Regions from separate parts of the Homo sapiens genome. Here all the other regions are linked to region 6. The links are contacts of gene promoters, found by promoter capture Hi-C in blood cells and fetal thymus (Javierre and others, 2016). All regions are on one chromosome and are shown on one strand. Each heading gives the region's core, a stretch centred on a gene start or on the middle of the fragment in contact. The rest is flanking DNA. Distances are from core to core; before and after follow the strand shown.

Region 1 (3,501 bases), core at 977-3,476, 450 kb before region 6:
AAATTTAAGTTTAAAGAATGTGAAAGTTTATGGTACAGGAGGTGATTAAACAGCAAAATTTGGAGAAACAACGGTAGATACTTTGGAAACCTTCCTTTTCTCTTTCTTTCTCTCTTTCTTTCTCCCCTCCCCTCCCTTCCCTTCCCTTCCCTTCTTCCCTTCCTTCCTTCCTTTCCTTCTTTTCTTTCTTTTCTTTCAATTTCTTTAGAGACCATGTCTCACTCCATTGCCTAGGCTGGGGTGCAGTGACTAGATCATGGCTCACTGCAACCTCAGACTCCTGGGCCTGAGGGATCCTCCAGCCTCAGCCTCACAAGTAGCTGGGACTACAGGCATGCACCACCAAGCATGGCTAATTTTTTTTTTTTTTTAATTTTTGTAGAGATGAGGTATCACTGTGTTGCCTTGGCTGGTCTCGAACTCCTGGCCTCAAGCAATCTTCCCACCTTGGAAAATCTTATTTCTATATCTCTTTGTAATTTAGAATGAACCTGATTTAATAATTCATTTTATAGATGAGAAAACTGAGATCACTGAATTCAAGGGAAACGATTAATGAGAGGCAGAGACCAGCACAGACTCCAGGTGCCTATTTGTCTCTAATTAATTTATGCTTCACTTGGTTTTGCAACAGGTGAAGAGACTAAGTTAAAATATGAGAAAAACTCTGTAGGGATCATTTCTGGGGGTCCATGAGGTCAAACTATTTTCCTAATAATACAAAGATGTTGTTTGCCTTTTTATTCTCATTCCCTTTCATGGATGTACGATGGAGCTTTCTAGAAATGAAATGATGTGTTATATATATCAAGAAGACAGATACAGAAACAGATGTGAGAATCTTTTTTCTTCCATTAAGCCAGACATTAGGGATTTGCAGAAATATAAAAGAATGCCACCTTTCTCACAAAATTTATTTTTGTTTTGGAAAATATAATAATATTCATAAAAACATTATTTAACATATAATAGATTACTGTTTTAAATTAATGAATACTTAAACAATTTTGGCTAGGTGCAGTGGCTCACTCCTATAATCCCAGCACTTTGGGAGGCCGAGGCGGGCGGATCACCTGAGGTCAGGAGTTCAAAATCAGCCTGACCAACATGGCGAAACCCCGTCTCTAGTGAAAACACGAAAAATTAGCTGGGCGTGGTGGCAGGTCCCTGTAATCCCAGCTACTTAGGAGGCTGAGGCAGGAGAATCGCTTGAACCTGGGAGGTGGAGGTTGCAGTGAGTCGAGATCGCGCCACTGCACTCCAGCCTGGGCGACAAGAGTGAAATTCCATCTCAAAAAAAAAAAAAAAAAAAATTCAGGAAAAAACAGTGAAAGAATTTTACAAAAAATATTCTCAATAAAACCCCCTCATTCCTTCCTTTCTGTATCCTTCCCTCACTCTTGTAAGACACATGATTCCAATGAGATGGACGTGAGACTTATATTTATGGTCAATAACAACAACAGGGTGCTCCTGGGTTCAAGTTTAGGCAGGACCACACATGGAGCTGAATTTGAGTTTTGGCTCACTTAGGAATATTGCACCTCCGTGACTGGTGAAAATCTAGTTTTTGTAAAGACACATGAAAGTGGCATGAATCCTTAGCTCATGAAGATGAGATTTTACTTAGCTTCTTTCTGAAAGGCTTTCCTGATTTCTGGTTCCAGATGAATCCAACATGGGACCAAAAATGTATTTTTTTCCCTATTTAATTCCCCATTTTCTTGGTTGGGGGTGGACCAACTTTTCTGTAAGGATTTTGTGATCTGCTACAATCTTATTTTTTTTAAAGCGGGGGCAATGGTAGGGTGGAGCATTGCTCAGTGCAAAAAAATTTGTTTATGCAAAAACTAGGATATTCAGAGAAAAAATCTTTTTACAACGGTTGGTGGGGGACCTGCTGTTTTACGTAGGGGGCGGTCAAGAAAAGCCTATCTGAAAAAGAGGTACTTGGGCTGAGACCTGAAGGAAGTGAGGGAGCATGGGATAGGTGGAAAAGAATACACAGACAGGAATGGCAAACACAAAAGTCCCAAGGCAGAGATGTGCTTGGTCTGTGAGAGGAACACCAAGGAGGCCAGTGTGGCTAGAATAGCATCAGCAAGGAAGAGGGAGACCCAGGGAGGGGGCAGGTCGGAGATGCAGGGGAGACCAGACCATGCAGGGCCTGGAGGACTTTTTTTTTTTTGGAGACGGAGTCTGGCTCTGTCGCCCAGGCTGGAGTGCAGTGGCGTGATCTCGGCTCACCGCAAGCTCCGCCTCCCGGGTTCACGCCATTCTCCTGCCCCAGCCTTCCGAGTAGCTGGGACTACAGGCGCCTGCCACCACGCCCGGCTAATTTTTCCTCTGTATTTTTAGTACAGATGGGGTTTCACCGTGTTAGCCAGGATGGTCTCGAACTCCTGACCTCCTGATGCTCCTGCCTCGGCATCCCAAAGTGCTGGGATTACAGGCGTGAGCCACTGCGCCCAGCCAGGACTTTTTTTTTTTTTTTTTTTTTTTTTTTTTTTTGAGACAGGGTCATGCTCTGTTGCCTAGGTGGGAATGCAGTGGCATGATCTCGGCTCATTGCAACCTCCGCCTCCCAGGTGCAAGTGATTCTCCTACCTCAGCCTCCTAAGTAGCTGGGACTACAGACATGCACCACCATGCCTGCCTAATTTTCCTATTTTTAGTAGAGATGGGGTTTCACCATCCTGGTCAGGCTGGTCTCGAACTCCTGACCTCAAGTGATTTGCCTGCCTCAGACTCCCAAAGTGCTGGGATTAGAGGCATGAGCCACCATGCCTGGCCAGGACTTTGGATACTACTCCAGTATTGCTAGGAGTAGCATCTTAGGTGACTGATGCCCTGCAGAGCACTTGTGAGAAATTACAGTGCTAGGTCAGGGATATGGAAAAGCATAAAATGCAGGCTCAAGGAGGCTCAGGGAGCTGCTGTGAGACATGCATCACTCGGTGCTGATTCCTGAAGTTGCACTTGTACACCAGGAGCGACACAGAGTATTGGCTCAGGTTTAGCAAAACTTAAAAAAACCCAGAAAATTCCAAAAGAACACTTCCCCTGTTTTATGTAATTTTGTGCAGGTAGGCCGGGTGCAGTGGCTCATGCCTGTAATCCCAGCACTTTGGGAGGCCAAGGTGGGCAGATACCTGAGGTCGGGAGTTTGAGACCAGCCTGACCAACATGGAAACCCCGTCTCTACTAAAAATACAAAATTAGCCAGGCGTGGTGGCACATGCCTGTAATCCCAGCTACTAGGGAGGCTGAGGCAGGAGAATTGCTTGAACCTGGGAGGCGGAGGTTGCGGTGAGCCGAGATCGCACCATTGCACTCCAGCCTGGGCAACAAGAGCAAAACTCTGCCCCCCCCCAAAAAAAATTTTTTTTTGTGCAGGCATACAAAGACGTAGCATACATGCAAGATGCACTTGGCACAGAAAATACTCTTTTACAGTGTAGCCCATCAGGGTATCTTTCTAGGCATTATCTAACAGTTCGA
Region 2 (3,260 bases), core at 99-2,598, 430 kb before region 6:
TTTATTATTTTGAGATGGAGTCTCGCTCTGTCGCCCAGGCTGGAGTTCACTGCAACAGATGAGGTTGTTGTATTACGTCTGAGCTGTTGCGGGAGCAGGCACTGGAAGGCTTTAGTTCTTGCCTTGTGGTCTCCCCTTCTAACCAGCATTACTTAGCTGGGGCTTGCTTGGGCAGTCACTTTATCTTTCTGAGCTTGTTCTTTATCCCTATCACAGTGATAAAAATCACTCTCGTTATTTACAACAGGGTTGATGTAAATAATAACATGTGCAAGTGTCTACCATCTGCTTGCCTTCGGAAGGCACCTATTAGATGTCCTTGCTCATGCTGGAGGTGCCTGAATTTACCCTCCTCATTGTCTCCTGGTCCCTGGAGCATTTGGGAGAATTCAGTGAGGCTGACTGTTATAAAATCTGTCCCTTGTGTTCAATACATTTTAGTTATTAGTATTATTGTTGAAGATAATTATATAAAGAAACACATGTTATAGACTTGACTGGCTCAGAAGGAGTTGTGTACAAGTAAAGGCTTAACAACCAGCATTTAGGAAAAAAACCCATGTGCACATATGTATGTACATAAAGTTTTTATACTTATATTTTTATTTTTTCAGACAAAGTCTTGCTTGCTCTGTCGCTCAGGATGGAGTGTAGTGGTATGATCTTAGCTCACTACAACCTCTGCCTCCCAGGTTCAAGTGATTCTCCTGCCTTACGCTCCCAAGTAACTGGGACTACAGGCACACACCACCACACCCAGCTAATTTTTGTATTTTTTGTAGAGACGGGGTTTTACCACGTTAGCCGGGCTGGTCTTGAACTCCTGACCTCAGGTGATCCACCCGCCTCGATCGCCCATTATTAACAATCAAATGGCTGTTCTTCATGGTACTGGTACAAAAACAGATATATACACCAATGGAACAGAACAGAGGCCTCAGAAACAACACCACACATCTACAACCATCTGATCTTTGACAAACCTGACAAAAACAAGCAATGAAGAAAGGATTCCCTATTTAATAAATGGTGTTGGGAAAACTGGCTAGCCATATGCAGAAAACTGAAACTGGACCCCTTCCTTACACCTTATACAAAAATTAACTCAAGATGGACTAAAGATTTAAACATAAGACCTAAAACAATAAAAACCCTAGAAGAAAACCTAGGCATTACCATTCAGGACATAGACATGGGCAAAGACTTAATGACTAAAACACCAAAAGCAATGGCAACAAAAGCCAAAACTGACAAATGAGATCTAATTAAACTAAAGAGCTCCTGCATAGCAAAAGAAACTATCATCAGAGTGAACAGGCAACCTACAGAATGGAAGAAAATTTTTGCAATCTATCCATCTAACAAAGGGCTAATATCCAGAATCTACAAGGAACTTAAACAAATTTACAAGAAAAAACAACCCCATCAAAAAGTGGGCAAAGGATATGAACAGACACTTTTCAAAAGAAGACATTTATGCAGCCAACAAACATGAAAAAAAGCTCATCATCACGTCATTAGAGAAATGCAAATCAAAACCACAATGAGATACCATCTCACGCCAGTTAGAATGGCGATCATTAAAATGTCAGGAAACAACAGATGCTGGAGAGGATGTGGAGAAATAGGAATGCTTTTACACTGCTGGTGGGACTGTAAACTAGTTCAACCATTGTGGAAGAGAGTGTGGCAGTTCCTCAAGGATCTAGAACTAGAAATACCATTTGACCCAGAAATCCCATTACTGGGTATATACCATAAGGATTATAAACGATTCTACTATAAAGACACACGCACAAGTATGTTTATTGCAGCACTATTCACAATAGCAAATAATTGGAACCAACCGAAATGCCCATCAATGATAGACTAGATAAAGAAAATGTGGTACATATACACCATGGAATACTATGTAGCCACAAAAAAGAGTGAGTTTATGTCCTTTGCAGGGACATTGATGAAGCTGGAAGCCATCATTCTCAGCAAACTAACACAAGAACAGAAAACCAAACACTGCATGTTCTCACTCGTAAGTGGGAATTGAATAATGAGAACATATGGGCACAGGGAAGGGAACATCATACACTGGGGCCTGTCGGGGAGTGGGGGGCACTCTATCATTAGGAGAATTACCTAATGGAGATGACGGGTTGAGGGGTGCAGCAAACCACCATGGCACATGTATACCTATGTAACAAACCTGCACGTTCTGCATACGTATCCCAGAACTTAAAGTATAATAAAATAAATAAATCAATAAATAAATACATAAATAATAAAAATCGCTGTTCTTAACAACTGGCTTGCAAAATTTGACTCTAGCAAGCAAGAAGATGTGGGCTCTGGCATGCTACTGCATGAAGGCAAGAGGAAAACATTAGGAGCCAATTTTAGCATAATATTTTGAAGTTGCTGCTTCCATTGGAGTCACTGTGGCTGCTGGCAACATGCTGGAGAGGTGGATATCAGTTAGGCAGCCACAGATCCTGGTGGGACCCCAGAAAAATCGCAGGGGGTGCTCAAATCCATATGTTTATATGTGATTTCTTAACAGAGAGTAAAAACACAATTTAAATGAACATGATTTTTGAAAGCAACAGCCCATTTTCTTCAATTCTAAAAATGGAAACCTGAAAAAGGGTACACACCATCGTGTATGGAATACGATATATAGTGAGGGAATAAAGTTCACAGTTGGGTGAACAAAAGTTCCATCCATCTTGGTATTCACAACCTACTCTGCCTTACCAACACTTTTCCACATATTGTGGGAAAGATTATCTCAGATGACTGCATGCATATTGCTTGGGTAGGACAATTTCCTACTAATTGCCAGGAACAACCAAACCCTAGTGGTAATCATCAAAGCTTAGGCCAATCCTGTTACAAGTACACAATGAATACGCATCTAAAAGACTTGGCGTAGTGCCTGGTCTTGACAACATGTAATTAACCCTAGCTATAATTCTGGATGGCACAGAGTTTCAGTGAGAAGCAATTTAAGGAAAAACACATGCTCCTTTAAACAATTTTAGATTTTATCAGTCAATGATTTTAGAAAGTTACCATCATCCTTTATAACATTTAAGAACATGTCAATGGAAAAGTCACTGGATTCAGAGTTGAGGAACTAGATTCTGGTCTTGATTCTGCTACTACCTATCTGTGTGATGTTAAGTAAGTAATGTCACTTCTATGCACCCTGGTTTTCCAATTTCTAAAGTAAGGGTGTTGGGGTAAGTAAGGGCTATTTTTTTAAT
Region 3 (3,570 bases), core at 839-3,338, 330 kb before region 6:
TCCTCGATCCAGCAAATGCATGCCTATGTTATCCTATGGATAAACTAGCATTTGTCCAAAACAATATATGTGAACATGGTTACTCATTATGGTAACCTGGATGGCCTTCAGGAGAGAACTTGTCTAATTAATTATGATTCAGCTACACAATGGAATTCTATGTGGTATTAAGAAAAGAATAAGGGTGCTTATTATGTACTGACATGGCAAGATCTCTAAGATAAATTGTTAAGTGGATGAAACATGATGCAGAATGCTGTGTAGGGGATGTCACCACTTGCATAAAAAAGAAAACAAATATTCTTTTGGCATGCATATACATAAAAAATCCTTGAAGGAAAAAACAGCCACAAGTAACAGTGATAACTGGAGCTGGACACTGAAAAAAAGGCACAGGGACAAAAGGAACTCTTCACAGTATTCCTTTTAAGAACAGGACAAGCCTTGCTGTGTATTATCATTCACAAAATTAAATAAATTTAAAAAGTTAGAGGTTAAAAGCCATAAACTGATTCCTCTTCCCCCAAACTGAGCCCTCCGTGCTCAGCACCACAGCAGAAGGTTTGTTTACCTCTGCATATTTAAGCTGTTCCAATGAATAACAAATACCAGCTTGACATGAATGAAGCTCTAGTGAAGGAAATGCAAATTAATGAGATCGCTGGCCCCTGCTGGGCCCGGATATTTGTCAGGGGAGCACGAGTGCAGAGAACAAAACAGCAAGTCCAGTGAAGGTCAGCCAGCAGGCAACAACCTTGGTTCTCTGAGGCCCCACGCTGGCACATTTACTGTGTGTAGATGTGGGTGCCAGCCCACAGGCGTTCAGCACAGAATCTCCACAGCACAGGTACCAAGTGCTTAGCAACTTCCACCATGGCAGAACTGCCAACATTCAAACACAATGACCGCAATCAACGTTTGCCTCCTGAAGTCCACAGGCTTTCCTTGCTTGAGACTGGAGTTACCTGTTGAGTAACTGTGCTCAGCATCCAGACTTAGCAAAAATGAAGTCAGAAAAAGAGTAGAACTCCTCACAGTTTAAGATTTACCTTATATTTCTTCAATGCACTTATGTAGGGTGTGGAAAAAAAAAAAAAACACCCGACAACTGACTTTCTTGTCTTGGCGTAAGTTGAAGCTTTGGAAATCTCAGCTATGGGGTTTTGAGCAGTGGTTCTAGATGCTTGGATCCCATGGGCCAGTAAAATTTCGACAACAAAAGTTTGGAATCCAACCTTGGATTTCCAAATTTATTTTGCCAAGTAAGAACCTAAACAATTAAGCAAGCACACGTTACAATCCCTATCACATCAGGGCATTTTTAGCTCCAAAAAAGGAGAAAGAAATTTCAAATAAAGAACAGAAGTTTCTCTGTCCTCTTCCCCACTTATTCACTAAGAAGCAGTTAAAGTTCAATCACAGACCAGCTCTGGCATTCTGATATTCACCTCTTCTGAGGCAAGTTCATTTTTAAGGCCAAAGCTACTGCTTGTCTTAGTCTAAAAATACATATATCTTAATGGCAACGTATGTTCAGAATTACACAATGTTGAAGCTTGAGGAAGCATTAGCCGCCATCTGGAATTCCCCATTTAGCAGATAAATCATAGTCCAGGGAGGGAAAACAATGGCCCAAACTGATCAGGAACAAACAAGATTGGGAGATTAGACTCACATCAGAACAGCAGAAAAGTCATAAGCAGATAGGAATGGCTTAACTTAGACTTGACGTTCCTCTGTTATTCCTCCTTTTCAGGATTCTGTTACAAGTTTCAGGGGTTTCTCCCTGCCCAAATATCCCAATTACTTCCACATGAGGCCTTCACACCACAGGGGCTGGTGGGTAGAATTTCACTTACAGAAGCTTTGGTCAGTTGGTGTTCTCCTCTCTATGTACTAATAACAACACAGCTTTGTTTATGGGGTTTTAGAGCCTGATGACCAAGTGCTAGTTTTGGTGGCACTGGACTGAGAGATGTGGTGGTAAGCAATGGGGTAAAACTAATTTAGCATCTCAAAGACAACACAAGGGGACCAGTTTTGGAGCTGAGACTCAGAGCTTTCTTGCCTCTAGAGCAGCATTTTCCATTTAGTGAGCTTTGTTTATTTCAAATTGTAACCAAACCATCAATAGTGGCTCTGAGGACTTTTGACAAAACTAGTACTTACGCAACTCCTGGGTGATAGTGGTCAGTGTCGCTAAAGGATGCTAAATGCCCTCACTTGTATTCAACAAACATGACCTTACCCTCTGTATGACAGGATAAATGAAGGGTGCTTTGTCTTGATGTGCAGACATTAGGAAAGCTTAAGTGGCACTACAGTTGGGTGAATGCCACTACAATCCAGTAACAAACTACTGATGGTACCCAGTCTTCAAGTTGGACCTTCGTACACAGCAGTCTGTAAAAGCGGCCTTAAGGTATTATTAATTGCCTCTGCCAATTCAGCCAAGGTGGATATCCCTTGGTTTCCACATACAATTCTTTACGTAACTAGAGAGAGAGAGACAGAAATTGGTCCTCTTTTTTGCCAAATTAGAGAGTGCTCATGAATGGAAAAACAAAACAAAGCAAAACAAAAGACACATTCCTTGCTGGTGCCAACCTCCTGTTGCTGAGCAGTTCTGTGATGGGTACACATGAACTGCATTGTATAAGACGAGGCTGCACCATCTTCAGAGACCAACCAGCTGACAGCCAATCTGTAAAAGTCAGCATCTGAAGACAGCTTAAATTCCCCAACCAAACAGTGCATTCCGGGATGTCATTTACTGGGAACATGTGACATCATCGGTTATATAAACATTAAACCATCCAAGAAGTTATTACCATACTGGAAAACCGTGCTTGAAGATAACTTCAAATAAAGTAGAATATTGTATAATATCCAGTGCATGCAATAAATCCTTTGAGCTAAAGGAAGAGGTATATGGCTTTTAGTAATAGGAAATCAGTTTCTCCCCATCCTCACCAAATACACGCTGAACAAAGACATAAAGAGTTTTGATTTGAAGGAGCATCATATTATGGCTTGCCCAGCAGCAGTCACTTCTCATTTTCTCCCAAGAAGACTAAGCTGGCAGCTTTGTCTTCTACCCACATGTACATAAAAACTGGTGCAGAATGTTTGTATAGATCAGGAGTTGGTAATCTTTTTCTTTTTTATTTATTTTTATTTTTATTAAATATAAAGAGATGAGGTCTCACTATATTGCCCAGGCTGCTTTCAAACTCTTGAGCTCATGTGATCTTCCCACCTCGGCCTCCCAAAGTGCTGGGATTACGGGCGTGAGCCACTGCAGCCAGCCTTGGCAATCTTTTTCTATAAAGGGCCAGATAATATTTCGAGCTCTGTGGGCCATACAGTCTCTGTAGCAATTACTCAACTCTGCAGCCATTGTAGATAGCAGCCGCAGACAATTTGTAAATGAATGGATGTGGCTTTATTCCAATTAAACCTTATTTACAAAAACGGGCAGTTAGCGGGGCCTGTCCCATGGGCTGTTGTATGCTGACCCACATGATATAAGACAGTGGTCCCCAACCTTTTTGGCACCAGGGACCAGTT
Region 4 (3,470 bases), core at 140-2,639, 390 kb before region 6:
CATAAGACATTATTTGCCTTTTTCACTTTCATTCTCTCATATGTGTAGAGTTTTCTAGATGTTACATGACCTGTGATGTCACCACATATTGAATTCAGAAGCAGATGTGAGACTCCAACTTATCTTCTATTAAGCCAGACGTTAAGGATTTCAAACAAAAAGGTAAAACAATTCCACTTTTCTCACTAAATTATTTGTGGAAAATATAATTATATTTTGTAATTATTTATGTTAAAAATTGACTGATGTTAACACGCAATTTTTTTTGTTAACTGGTAAGAATTAATAAATATTTTTAAATTTTTCTCAATTTTAATTTCTAATATGTGAAATATAGATAGCTATCACCCACATAAATAAAAGCTCTTTGGTGTCCTCAATAATTTTTAAGGGTGTAATGTGGCCCTGAGACCAAAAGGTTTGAGAACTGCTTTTCTACATCATAGTTCTTAGGTCAATGTTATTTCTCTAAACGAAGAAACAGCAATGATCAAAAGGTTTTCGGCAGTACCAAGGAAATGCGATCAGGGTGAGAGCCGTGTAATGAGGAAAAGATACTCAGGAGACCTATACTCATGGCATTTCATGGAGTGAGGGCCAAAAGACTGGAAAAAGAAGTAACTCTTTGTTCTTTATCAGCATCACGTATAATGAGGAGCAGAGAAGACCGGAAAACAAACCTCTGCCAAGACCACATAGCACCACAACAAAGAGTTCACTTTTGTCTCAAGTGGTGAGTTTCTTCCTTAAAGGAATGATCTCACTCAGCAGATAAGAGCTTGGATTTTGCAGAAATTTAATTCTCAGGATCTCTTTTGACTGGGTAACATTGAGAGCTGGTTTGGGTGGCTGGTTGCTTCCTTTTGTGTGGCAGAAACGCCTAGATTTGTCTTTGGCTCAACCATGGCTGGCAGTAGGTATCCTGTGTCCATTTCTAGCCTTGCATTCTGCCACTCGACTGCCTCCATGTTCACTTTTCAGCTCACCCTTCTGCCATATTGGAACCTACCATGTTCATTCTGCCCTTAGGCCTTTGCACATGCTGTTCTTTCTCCTTGAGATGCCCTTCCTGTCTCTCTTCTTAATGAACTCTGGGTTACATTTTCAGGATTTAGTTGAAATATCTTTTTCTCTGTGAGCTCTCTTTTGGAAGAATTGGTCTTTTTTTCTCTTATTTCTCTCCGCGTACCCATAGTAGCATATGCAGAAATATTAGCAATTGTTTCATTACAGATCTGTCACATGTTTCAATCTCCGGCTCAAAAGAGACTATTAAATTATTGAGGGAGGAACTAATCAATATTTAAAAAGCTTTCTATATCATCAGTGCTTAGTGTAGTGCTAGATACATAATAGGTGCACGAGTGTTTGTTCATGAATGCATTATTGTTCTGAAGTTTTAGAACAGTTAATTTTCTCTAACAAATTAATTTAACTCTTATATTCTATTCAGGAAACTAAGCTTTAGTACTTTAGACAAATTATTCGTATGGAGAATTTCAGTGAAGTTTCAACATAATGGTGGCTAATATTTCCAGGAAATATTATAGGATTTTGTAGACATTATTACACCGGCAGCATGACTCACTTGTGGGTGGGATGAAGGGATTTAAAAAGGTTAAAAAACACTGACTTCAAAAAAGAAACTTGAAGACCAGGTACTATTTTCTTGGTGGGAGGGGAGTATGCCTTTAGGCATTAAGGGCTTTAAATTAACCATGGTTGATGGAACATCTTAAAGTTAACTCAAGTGTCTACTTTTCTAATAATTTAATTACCCTTTGAAATGGTGGTGTTAGATAAAAATTCCATTCATTCATTGCATTATTCATCAAATAACCATTGAGTGTCTACTGTGTGCCAGGAAATGTGTTAAGTGAAAGTTAAGGACTTTGGGCACCAGGGAATCCATGGACGTTTATTTCCTTTAGCATTATTATTATTATTATTATTAGCATGGAAGGGTTTTAACAGAAATCAGCAAGAGCAGATTTATATTTTAAACTGATTCCTCTAGCTGCAGTGTGTGTGTGTGGAAATTGGATTGAATGGGTACATGATGGGAGGCAAAGAGACCTGTTTGGGGCCACAACTTTATGCAAAAAAAAAAATAATAATAAAACCTGCAAACCAAAAAACACAGTGGCTGAATCAGGAGAGGTACTGTGAGAGAAGGGGCTGCAATCCTGATACTGCAGAGTGAGGACTGATAGGTGTTGCTGAGTAACTGCACGTGGGTGGTAAGCAGAAGGAAGGGGTCAAGGGATGATGGCAGCATTCTGGCTGGGTAATTGGGTGGATTGTGGTGGTCTTCCATAAGACGTGGACCCAGGTAGAGAGGCAGACTCTGGGGTGGTAAGTGGCTAAATTCAATTTTGGGCATGCTGAGCTTGTGGAATCTAGTGGATGCTTAAGTTTGGGGAGTGGACAGGCAAGGGGAATTGCTAGAAGTGTGGGGAGTAAGTTGCAAGTACACAGATGGTAACTGAACCCTTGGGAGAACAGGGAATTACCCAGAGTGCTGTATAAGAAGAGACCGAGTCAGAGCCTGGACCCTGAGGAGCAACCACAATAAGAGTAAGCAGGGATGAAAAGCTTCCAAAGGATACCAAGGAGGAGAAGAGAGGCTGGAAGGCAACCAGGGAAGTCCTGAGTTACGAAAGACAAGCGAAGAGCGTTATTTCACAGAGAACTGCTATCAGTGGTCTCACATGCTGGAGAGTTTTAAGAAGACTGAAAGAGGCTGGGTGCGGTGGCTCACACCTGTAATCCCAGCACTTTGGGAGGCCAAGGTGGGTGGATCACTTGAGGTCAGGAGTTCAAGACCAGCCTGGCCAACATGGCAAAACCCTGTCTCTACTAAAAATACAAACATTAGCTGGGTGTGGTGGCGCATGCCTGTGGTCCCAGTTACTCTGGAGGCTGAGGCAGGAGAATCACTTGAACCTGGGAGGCAGAGGTTGCAGTGAGCTGAGATAGTGCCACTGTACTCCAGCCTGGGCAACAGAGTGAGACTCCATCTCAAAAAAACAAAAACAAAAACAAAAACAAAAAAAACTGAAAGTTGTTCAATGGCTTGAGCAATGATTGTTGATTACTTCAAAAAGAACATTTTGGTAGAGTGGTGGGATCAAAAGCCACTGGAGAACACTGAATAGTGACAAGAAATAAAAAAAGTGAGACAGCAAGTACATCCAACTCTCATCTCCAATAGGGTGACAGTGAAGGAGGAAAAAGATACACCAGGAACTGAAGAGAGACAGATCGTTGAGGAGGTTTGTTTCTATGATATATGAGAATGAGCAGATAGAAGGATGAGGTGTGGAGCCAGAAGAGGGAGTGAATGGTTAAAATTACCCTGTAGTGGAGATAATCTCTACAGGGATCTGTCCTGGACCTTAAGGAGAAGATCGGACCCAGTATACATGGTATATTCATCCATTCAACAAATAAAAATTACAATATGTGCA
Region 5 (3,269 bases), core at 489-2,988, 370 kb before region 6:
GCAAACTATCTTCTGTCTTACTGCTAGCAGGAGCTGGTGTGGCTGCAGGGTGGTTCAGTCTCCTTGCTCTGGAACCAGATGGCCTGGTTTGACTCATGGCTCCCCCACTTGCTTGTTTTTGGGCAAAGTATTTAACATTTCTGGTATCTATTCTCACCTGTATTATCTCTATAATAGGGATTCCTACCAAATAATTCCTACCAAAGTTACTGTGAAGATTAACTGAGTTAATCCGTGCCAAGTCTTAGGCACACAAAAAGCACTCAATTAATGTCAGCTATTCATGTTATTCCTCCACCTGCAGAATCGATCCCTATGACCAGCCCACCTTGAATCTCCCCTCTCCCTTAGCTATTGTGCCCTGGCTTCTCTTGGTTCTTTGTCTATTTGACTTTTCCACTTTTTCTTCCTGTGCCCTAAAGATGTTCACCCAAAGCTCTCTGTTTTTTCTACTTTCTAGTACTTACATTCATTGACTCTTTTGTTGGAAAAAAAAATGTTTGAGTGCCACGCACTGTGGAAGTTGATGGATCTTCAGGGATAAAACAACAGATAATTATTCCATACTCAACATTAAACAAGCCCGAATTACACATTGTAATAAGGCCTGGAGGGAAAAATCAGAGAGCTGTGGGAAGATCCCACAGGAAGTACCTACTTTCGACTGGGGGGTATTTCAGCAGTCCAGGTAAGAGAGGGTAATACTTGAATGAGTAGGGGCAGCTGGGGAGCTCGAGGGAGAAGTGGATAGATTTGAGATCTTCTTAAAGGTAGATTCCAATTACCATCTTTCTACAGAAAATTCCTAAATTGTTGCATTTAATCTGACTTCATTCCTAAGCTGCAGCCCAATATATTTCCTTCAGAACATCTCTAAACTTCTTTTTTAAATTAAAAAAATATTTTTTTGAAACAGAGTCTCACTCCATCACCCAGGCTGGAGGCAGTGGTGCAAACATGACTCACTGCAGCCTTGACCTTTTGGGCTCAAGTGATCCTCTCATCTCAGCCTCCCGAGTGGCTGGAACTACAGGCACATGCCACCACACCTGACTAATTTTTTGTGGAGATGGGGTTTTGCCTTGCTGCCCAGGCTGGTCTTGAACTCCTGGGCTCAAGCGATCCAACCACCTCGGCCTCCTAAAGTGCTGGGATTACAGGCATGAGCCACCATGACCATCTAAATGTCTACACATGGCCATGCTATAACCCTAAATTCTTACCTCACTCCAAAGCAGTTCTTTTTCCTCACTTCCCTCTTTTATTTGAAATCATTCTAATGCGATTTCATACTTCATGGCTACTTTTCCTTCACTGAGTCACCCAATCCTGCAGCTTCTATTATCAAAACGTTCCTTCTCTCTAATGATAATGAATTAATTTCAGTTTCCCATTCTTTTTTTTTTTTTTTTTATTTGAGATGGAGTTTTGCTCTTGTTGCCCAGGCTGGAGTGCAATGGCATGTTCTCGGCTCACTGCAACCTCCGCTTCCCGGGTTCAAGCAATGTTCCTGCCTCAGCCTCCCAAGTAGCTGGGATTACAGGCGTGTGCCGCCATGACCAGTTAATTTTGTATTTTTAATAGAGACAAGGTTTCTCCATGTTGGTCAGGCTGGTCTCGAACTCCTGACCTCAAGTGATCCACCTACCTCAGCCTCCCAAAGTGCTGGGATTACAGGCGTGAGCCACCATGCCTGGCCCAGTTTCCCATTCTTTCCTCACAAACCCATTCCTGACATCTGTGCTTGACCAGGTCACATCACATCCCTACTCAAAGCCTTCAGTCTCTCACCACTGCTTGGTGCCAGTGCTTCAATTTGACATAGAAAGTCCTCACTAATATGGCCCTAGCCAATGTCTTTTTGTTACTTAATGCCTGGCTAGAGACATTTGCCAGGCTAGTCTAACTGGAGCTCTTTACCCCTGAATGTGCTCTGAAGATGTAAACTCTGATGCTTCTGCTCATGTCGTTTCTTCTAGATGGTCCTTACCATCTTTTCAAATCCTACTGTTTTTTCAAAGCCTGTCCCCACTCCATGCAAATTTACTAATGATTTCAACAAACTATTGGGATATGTCTCCCCTCTGAAGACCCAAGCACATTATTAGTGTCCCTCTGTCATATAAAATTCTACCTCAGGTTACACCTATATTCTTTGTATCATACACACAAGACTTCATTTCTCAACAAAGACTGGTTTGACTTAGTGCATTTTGCTGTGTGCTCTGAACACAGTAGGAATGAATATTTGTTATACTGCTTTCCACATGTATAAGTAAGTGAAAACCAAAATATTCAGCAATAAAGAATGTAAAACACTACACCCTGTATCTTAAATATAAGAACTTGATACCTGTGCATCATGATTACAATGCCCATGAACAAATTTTTGGCACTAAAAACATTTACTGTGATTATGTGCTCTGTGTTGTCAGAAAAATAAAGATAAAAGCCTACAGTGCTTTCAAACCTACCCACACCATAGGTATTTTATATACACTGTGTCAAGGGCAAAAATCAAGCTGATATTTATAGAGATTCTTTTGATTTACTGTTTAGTAGGCATACAGCTAAATGGCAGATAAAAGGCAAAGTTGTTTTGCTATAAATTAGGCTGAGCTTTGAGTCTAGTAAGACTATCACATTTTTCTTTAGGAAGCCTTTGCAAGAACAGCATGTCACAGGCTTGGTCAACTGTGAAGGCTCTTTAATCATCCAAGAACGCTTGGTGCTGGCCCTAAGATGGAACACATCTCAAGGCCTTCTTAGTTTTCCTGTCCTCTGCTCCCTTGTCATAGGGGTTCTTATGGAAATTAACCCATTCAATACGTATTTTATTGCGCACCTACTATGTGACAGGTACTCTTTTGTTTAAAATTCCTTTGTGCAGTCTAGCAGACATATAATAAAATTAGAACATCCCCATTTTACCACTCCTGATGAATGAATGAGTCTAATCAGTGGTCATCAACAGGTACTAACATTGCAGAAAGAAAGGCATTCTGACATGATGTGCCTCCTGATGAGGGGAGACATCAAATATGAAGTCAGACCTAAATCTGACTGACTCAACCTGTAGGATCCTACAATCCATTTACAGAAAAAACGCACAAGAGAGGAGTGTGTTAAATGAAACAATGTGGTGTAATCAGCAAAATCCAGATGCTCTGGGATAAACAAACCAATATCTTCAACAAATACTTTCAAAATGAAAAAATCAGAGTGACAAGGAACTTAGCAAGTAGATTCTATTTAAATCCTGATCCAAA
Region 6 (3,276 bases), core at 121-2,620:
TACACAAGGACATGAATATCAGGAGGTGGGATCCTTAGGGATCATCTTAGAAATATTCCATCTCACAGTTTGGGGAAGGAGGGAATAAGAGCTGTTTTAAGATTACAAAGACAATATCAAGACTAGAAGATCAAGGTAGTTCAAGGTCGAAATTGAAGCTAAGAAAGGTAAAGGCTAAGGGTTGGAATGGAGAAGTGCCTTATATAGTTTTTGATCCATAGTGTGTACCTCTCTAATATCCGTGTCTCCCAGCCCTAACATGAAGGTAGAGCTAAGGAGATGGTGAGTGTGAGACTAAAGGTTATATGAGGGATTATTAGGGCACGCCACAAAAAACTGCTGCTCTCATTGGGAAAGTAAATGGAAAATAATGGTAATGGAGTAGTGGAGTGGAACAGCAGCAAAGAGGAACTGAAGATAAGCTATCCTGAGTAAAAGCAACCCAGGGTTCCTATGGGAAGGAGACTTTTGGCAGAGACATGCCACATTATCAAATAAAAAAGGGCAGAGCCAGGGCATAAAGCACGTCTGAAATAAGCTATCCACAATCAAAGACAGTCAAGCTAAAGAAAACAAATTCCAGCCAGGAAACAGAAGGCTGGTTCTGGAAAGATTTTTTGAGGCAATGCTACATAGAGCAGAGGTGTGGAGGAGAGGACAGGGAACATTTTTAGCAGCATCCTCTAAAACGAATTCTATTTCATATGTACTTTATGAAAGGGGGAAAGATTGCAGGAATTACAGGCCCAAAATCCCCCCAAATTCCCGAGGCTCTGTCTATTATAGTCCTTTTCTCCAGCACTCTCCTTTCCCTCCCACTCAGGCTCTTTCGATCTTGTCAACAGAGCAGGAACCACGAAGTTCACACTCTGAACTTCTGTCTTGGAATTATGCCAGTATCATAGTGTGGGGGCAATAAGTGGGGATTCATTGAGGGAGGCAAGACAAACATGTTAACAGCCTTGAAGAAATGCCTTTTTAGTACAGAAAAAGGGAGAAGGAATCAGGAAGGGATTTCTTACCAAACCTCAAAGAAGATCGTTCTTTAAAGAGTGCTAACTTCTCCAGCTTTTAGTGGGGAATTGCCCTCCATGGGGATTAAGAGACCAGCGCCTTTTAATCAAAGGAGGGCTGTACGTTCAAATAACTGGGAACAGCTGAGTGTCCCACCCAACTCTGAAGAACAAAACAGCTACACGAAGCCACTCCTGCCTGCAGTATACAATGCTATGTTTTTTGGCTAATTCTCCAAGGATATTACACTTACTTTCAATGGTTAATGAATAGCTTCTAAGTGCCTGTTTCATTTAGTTGTCCAAAGGCCAGTGGGTCCCAGAGCATATAAAGCTGCAAGCTGGCTAATGAGCTCATTCTCTTGGAGCAAGCAGGGAAGCAGAGGAGCAGCAGGGTCAGGGTGCTGGGTTCCTAAGGTGCAAGGATGCAGAACAGAACTGGCCTCATTCTCTGTGCTCTTGCCCTCCTGATGGGTTTCCTGATGGTCTGCCTGGGGGCCTTCTTCATTTCCTGGGGCTCCATATTCGACTGTCAGGGGAGCCTGATTGCGGCCTATTTGCTTCTGCCTCTGGGGTTTGTGATCCTTCTGAGTGGAATTTTCTGGAGCAACTATCGCCAGGTGACTGAAAGCAAAGGAGTGTTGAGGCACATGCTCCGACAACACCTTGCTCATGGGGCCCTGCCCGTGGCCACAGTAGACAGGTACGTGCTGACAGGCAGAGGGACCAAGAAGGGCTGAGATGGGCTGAGTTGTGTAAGATCTGAGTAATTTCTGATCCTACTATGGAGCGACTTACATGTCCCATGGGCTGTCTGTCTAGAACCAAAGCTTTATTGTCAGGGAATTACTCTGGGGTTGTTATTAGGAAGAGTGGCGCCATCTTTGGGGAAAACCATGACGCAGGGGCAACTCATCTCAGAGAAACCCTACCACCACCCCCAGTGAAAACCCACCTAAGCCAATTTAGAAACCCAGGCTCTTTTGTTATATCATGGCAGCTGTCATTAATTAGTGGCAGGTGATGGTTAGTTACTTCCCATAACCTGGCTATGAGGTTCTAAGGAAAGCAAGTCCCAGACCAAATTCTGCCACACAACAAATGAAGAAGCAGGCATAAAATGAGTCCTGGAATCTCTGTGAGCTCAGAAAAGTCCCAGTTTACTGTCCTTTTAGGTGTTGTGATCTCACCTTGCATAAAACATTCCTTCAGGGGAAGGTGATAATATTCTAGAGGCAAGATTCATTCTTTCTCGCCATCTCATACATTAGGATAGTTATCATCAAAAAACAAAACCAAACAGCTAGTGTTGGTGAGGATGTCAATAAATTGGAACGCTGTGCATTGCTGGTGGGAATGTTAAAATGGTGCAACCACTGTGGAAAACAGTGTGGAGACTCCTCTATACATTAAATATTGAATTACTGTTTGATCTGGCAATTCTACATTCTGAGTTTATACACAAAGGAACTGAAAGCAGGGATTCAAATGGATGTTTGTACACCAATGCTTGTAGCAACATTTATTCATAATAGCCCAAATGTCCATCAACAGGTGAGTAGATAAACAAAATGTGGTATATACATGCAATGGAATATTAGCCTTAAAAAGGAAGGAAATCCTGGCACATGCCACCACTTGGATGAAGTTGAAAACATTATGCTAAGTGAAACAAGTCAGTTACAAAGGGCAAATATTGTATAATTCCACTTACATGAGTACTTAGCGTAGTCAAATTCACAGACACAGAAAGTAGAACAGTGGTCCCAGGGGCTGGTGGAAGGAGAGACTGGGGACCTATTGTTTAATGAGTAGAGAGTTTTAAGGTGATGGTTGTAGAGCAATATGAGTGTATTTAGTGCCACTGAGCTATACACTTAAAAACAGTAAATTTTATGTCATATATATTTTACCACAAGAAAAAAAAGATTCAGTTAATCTTATAGTCAGTATCAGGCAACAAGAAACCTCCTAATTCTTGGCTAGCCACAGGACCATTTAGGGATAACACCCTAGGCATCATTCTCAAGATACAGGCTACAAGACTATAATTATTTTGCCCTCTTCGTGCAAGAGTAGAAAGTATCTAAAATATTTTAGCTACTCCATGTATCTTGAATATAAGTAATCTTACCCATGAGCATCCACTTTTGGCATCCTTTATGCTAATTAATAAGATAATAATTATGAAAACCAAAACTTATTTCCAATGTTATACTAACCAGCAGAGTTTCTGGGTTTGATTAAAAATTAAGAGAAATGA
Region 7 (3,340 bases), core at 344-2,843, 410 kb before region 6:
AAAATGCAGACTTCAGGGCTCCATTTCTAGAGGTAGGTACCCTGATGTAGGAGCTAGTCACACTGAGAAGCATTTCTCTAGAGGCTCCACGAAGGAGGGCAGAGAATTGAAGAGTGTCTACAAAGGTACATCCACTACCAGCAAACCATTCTTCCAGAGACATAGCACTAGTGTTTTAAGTCAAGGGAAATAAAGATGTAGTGTTTTAGTTCCAGAATTAAGAGGCAAAGAATGGATAAAGAAGTCTTTTTTTTTTTGTCAGTTAAAATATTCAAAAATTGGCCAACAGTTTTCCCACTTTTTTTGGCAATATGATTTATCCATAAACTAAATCGATTTAAAAATCTTAGTAACACACAAAAAGTACCCAGAAATATTATCTCACATGAATTCCTCAAAAAATGTGAATGTTCTTTGAATTAATGCTGAATCCTAAATTATTCTTCATATAATGTCAGATATCTGAAAAATTCACTTCAATTTCCTGCCCTGGCAGAAATATATGAGGGATCATTTGAAAAGCTAATCACTTCAGAAGTAATTCTATAATTTGTCAAAAAGGAAAAAAGACATCTGGCAAAATCCAGGTGCAGACTAATGTGATGTAAATCCATGTTTTTTCTTCTATTTTTTTTTTTTCTGGGGGTGGGGAGGAAAAACTAAACTAACAGGCATATTATAAAACTTCTGCAGGTTCCTTTTTTTTTTTGAGGCAAGGTCTCGCCTCTGTTGCCCAGGCTGGAGTGCAGTGGCATGATCACAGCTCACTGAAACCTGGAACTCCTGGATTCAAGCAATCCTCCCATCTTAGCCTCCCAAGTAGCTGGGACTACAGGCACGTGCCACCATGCTCAGATGTGTTTTTTGTTGTTGTTGCTGTTGTTGTTGTAGAAATGAGGTCTTGCTAAGCTGCCCAGGTTGGTCTCGAACTCCTGGGCTCAAGAGATCTTCCTGCCTCACCTCCCACAGTGCTGGGATTAGAGGCATGAGCCATCACTCGCAGCCAGGTTCCAACTTTTTCAGCATGTGCCTCAGCCACAACTGGAGAGAGATGTGACACCACTCAGGTTCACTGGTAATGCTATAATGGTTTTGATTTTTAAAATGGAATATCCTTCTTTCAAGAGACTGAAGAATAAGGAAGGTTTTTGCTTCTCTAAACATGTGGTATCATTTGCTTGATGACTTCATTTCTTGACACTTGGGAAAAGGTGACTAAATCCTTTCTTTACTAAGAATGAAAGAATGTGACCACATTTTCCCCTCATTCTGTGTTTGCTCCAGACTAAGAAAGATTCAGATAAGATGTTGCAGGGGTGGTGGGTTCACAAATGATGTATTGGTAATAAAGCAGAAATGTTTTGTAAGGGCATGGGTGATGGCTATCTGCTCCCAAACTGTGTCACCTGCCTTATCAGAGGGAGTCTCACTTGGGTTCCTCAAGCTTACAAGCCTCTTTGAGGAATTCTCAAACTAAAGATCTATCCCATGTGTCTAGAATTAGCTAAGACATTTCTATGAGTATTTACAACCAGCACAGTACCAGGGAATGCATTACTGATTGTCAGACAGACTTATTGGTAAATACTGGAGTCTCTAATTGCACAGATCATTAAAAAATTTATGGCTACTTTACATAGTACTATTACAATGGCATGAGAATAAATTGGTTCCATGATTACTTCTATAAAAGCCTAAATTGATTCCTGTTCTTGCACTCACACTACCTTTGTAAAGCTTTGACCCTTTCCTCTCTCTCTCTTTTAAAAAAGATCCTGTGTCTATCTAGCTTTTGCTCCATGTGTTGTGGTTGTTTTTATCCTATCTCAACTCTACTTTGCAATGCTGGGGCCCAGAGTTGCAAACGATATCCCATAGGCCTCTTGACTAGGTCCTGTCAGTCAAGGCATTGCAGGAGTTGGATGAGAAGGTGGCAGGAGGACAGAAGCTGCTGGCTTTCTGCTCTCATTTATCTTTCTTCCATTTCAGGGCAGTGTCTCTGGAGGTGGCTATGTTCTTGCACTATCCCAGCTCTTCAGGTAGCATCCTCCGCCACTGTCCCTTCTCCAAGGCGGCAGCAGGTATCGTGGCAGAGCTCATGGTGGGAGCTGCCTCCTGCAGTTATTTACCTGAGTTTCTGGAATTTCCCCCTTCAGTCTTCCAGCCTCCCCACATTCTGTAACCAATTCCCTTTGAAATTCCAAGTGTGTTTTCCATTTCCTGAAAGGACTCTAACAAAGCACTCCATGATGGCTTTTTGTCAAAAACATCATGCCCTTTACAGTGAGACTTATGCGGCAGCTGCAAGGTATTAGTGTCTCAAATCACTTGGTTATTTTATTTCAACAAATGTTTTATGGGGCTTACTATGTGCCACAAGGTATAAATGCTTTCTAATTGTTATTTCATTTAATCTTTATAACAACTCTGGGGGCAGTAGTATAGTAATTCACACTTTACAAATGAGGAAACTGAGGCACATGACGAGCAAGTAACTTGCCCAATGTTAGATCACTAGAAGTGGCAGTTTGAGAGCTAATGTCCTAAGGGATGATTTAGCAAGACGCATGAGCATCTTTACCCACCACCATCTGAGGTGGTGGGGGTAGGAAGGTCTGTTTGCAAGGCAGGAGTCAGCAGATTAAGAAACATAAAAGAACAGGCTGGGCGTGGTGGCTCATGCCTGTAATCCCAGCACTTTTGGAGGCTGAGGCGGGCAGACCAAGAGGTCAGGAGATCGAGACCATCCTGGCTAACACGTTGAAACCCCAAACCCCGTCTCTACTAAAAAAAAATTAGCCGGGCGTGGTGGCACGCACCTGTAGTCCCAGCTACTCGGGAGGCTGAGGTAGGGGAATTGCTTGAACCCGGGAGGTGGAGGTTGCAGTGAACTGAGATCACGCCACTGTACTCCAGCCTGGGTGACAGAGACTCTGTCTCAAAAAAAAAACAAAAAACAAAAAACCATAAAAGAACAAAGAGTCTGGAGAGGTCGTCTTCAATGTTTAGCATCAACGAGTGCATCATCCTACTAGGGGCTGTGTAGCCCTAGACTGGTGTCTAGGTATGGCAGGTAGCTGCAAAGTTCACAGCAGGTAACACAGTTGTGCTGTCTTTCCCTTGAGATTAGGGTTAGGGGAATGGAATCACTAGGAAGTTTTTGCAACTAGCTGTTCTCCTTTCATTTTGTAAATATTAAAGATTCCTGCTGACCTTGCTGTATCAACAGAAGATATAGGATTTTCTAAACCCAGCAGGAACATATCTAATAAAAGTCTTTTCTCGATGATTACGTAGTGATTTGGAGTCCACCTGGAGAGTTGGAAATAACAACTTGAGG

What was found. Contacts are between HindIII fragments. The CHiCAGO score rates a contact against its expected background, and 5 or more counts as called.
Region 1: a fragment that was not itself captured here is called in contact with the fragment with the promoter of TMEM252 in region 6 in 8 of 17 cell types (monocytes, M1 macrophages, endothelial precursors and 5 more); the score reaches 9.4 in monocytes.
Region 2: a fragment that was not itself captured here is called in contact with the fragment with the promoter of TMEM252 in region 6 in 9 of 17 cell types (endothelial precursors, neutrophils, total B cells and 6 more); the score reaches 12.9 in endothelial precursors.
Region 3: a contact is called between a fragment that was not itself captured here and the fragment with the promoter of TMEM252 in region 6, in 1 of 17 cell types (total B cells). The highest score is 5.5, in total B cells.
Region 4: a contact is called between a fragment that was not itself captured here and the fragment with the promoter of TMEM252 in region 6, in 4 of 17 cell types (total B cells, endothelial precursors, naive B cells and 1 more). The highest score is 10.6, in total B cells.
Region 5: a contact is called between a fragment that was not itself captured here and the fragment with the promoter of TMEM252 in region 6, in 2 of 17 cell types (total B cells and naive B cells). The highest score is 5.6, in total B cells.
Region 7: a fragment that was not itself captured here is called in contact with the fragment with the promoter of TMEM252 in region 6 in 4 of 17 cell types (endothelial precursors, naive B cells, total B cells and 1 more); the score reaches 8.1 in endothelial precursors.

What each region holds. Positions count from the first base shown.
Region 1 is chr9:68,991,850-68,995,350 of GRCh38, reverse strand. The region is part of intron 15 of PIP5K1B (phosphatidylinositol-4-phosphate 5-kinase type 1 beta); the gene reads right to left. Among named protein-coding and RNA genes, the nearest start is that of PRKACG, 21 kb to the left of the region's middle. The HindIII fragment of the contact is 5,656 bases long and covers 1-3,501 here.
Region 2 is chr9:68,969,996-68,973,255 of GRCh38, reverse strand. All of the region lies in intron 14 of PIP5K1B (phosphatidylinositol-4-phosphate 5-kinase type 1 beta), which reads right to left. The region is part of intron 1 of LOC101927069 (a long non-coding RNA gene); the gene reads left to right. Among named protein-coding and RNA genes, the nearest start is that of PRKACG, 42 kb to the left of the region's middle. The HindIII fragment of the contact is 3,045 bases long and covers 1-2,870 here.
Region 3 is chr9:68,869,436-68,873,005 of GRCh38, reverse strand. All of the region lies in intron 5 of PIP5K1B (phosphatidylinositol-4-phosphate 5-kinase type 1 beta), which reads right to left. Among named protein-coding and RNA genes, the nearest start is that of PABIR1, 91 kb to the right of the region's middle. RefSeq lists an enhancer at 280-864. The HindIII fragment of the contact is 443 bases long and covers 1,867-2,309 here.
Region 4 is chr9:68,929,241-68,932,710 of GRCh38, reverse strand. All of the region lies in intron 12 of PIP5K1B (phosphatidylinositol-4-phosphate 5-kinase type 1 beta), which reads right to left. Among named protein-coding and RNA genes, the nearest start is that of PRKACG, 83 kb to the left of the region's middle. RefSeq lists an enhancer at 1-680. The HindIII fragment of the contact is 151 bases long and covers 1,314-1,464 here.
Region 5 is chr9:68,909,522-68,912,790 of GRCh38, reverse strand. The region is part of intron 8 of PIP5K1B (phosphatidylinositol-4-phosphate 5-kinase type 1 beta); the gene reads right to left. Among named protein-coding and RNA genes, the nearest start is that of PRKACG, 100 kb to the left of the region's middle. The HindIII fragment of the contact is 6,425 bases long and covers 1-3,269 here.
Region 6 is chr9:68,538,977-68,542,252 of GRCh38, reverse strand. It overlaps TMEM252 (transmembrane protein 252), which reads left to right and starts at 1,370. Exons shown (of 2, transcript NM_153237.2): 1 at 1,370-1,716. The coding sequence starts at 1,439. It overlaps TMEM252-DT (TMEM252 divergent transcript), which reads right to left and starts at 1,228. Exons shown (of 5, transcript NR_187592.1): 1 at 1,023-1,228. The HindIII fragment of the contact is 3,743 bases long and covers 1-1,845 here.
Region 7 is chr9:68,946,015-68,949,354 of GRCh38, reverse strand. The region is part of intron 14 of PIP5K1B (phosphatidylinositol-4-phosphate 5-kinase type 1 beta); the gene reads right to left. Among named protein-coding and RNA genes, the nearest start is that of PRKACG, 66 kb to the left of the region's middle. RefSeq lists an enhancer at 1,942-2,618. The HindIII fragment of the contact is 293 bases long and covers 1,447-1,739 here.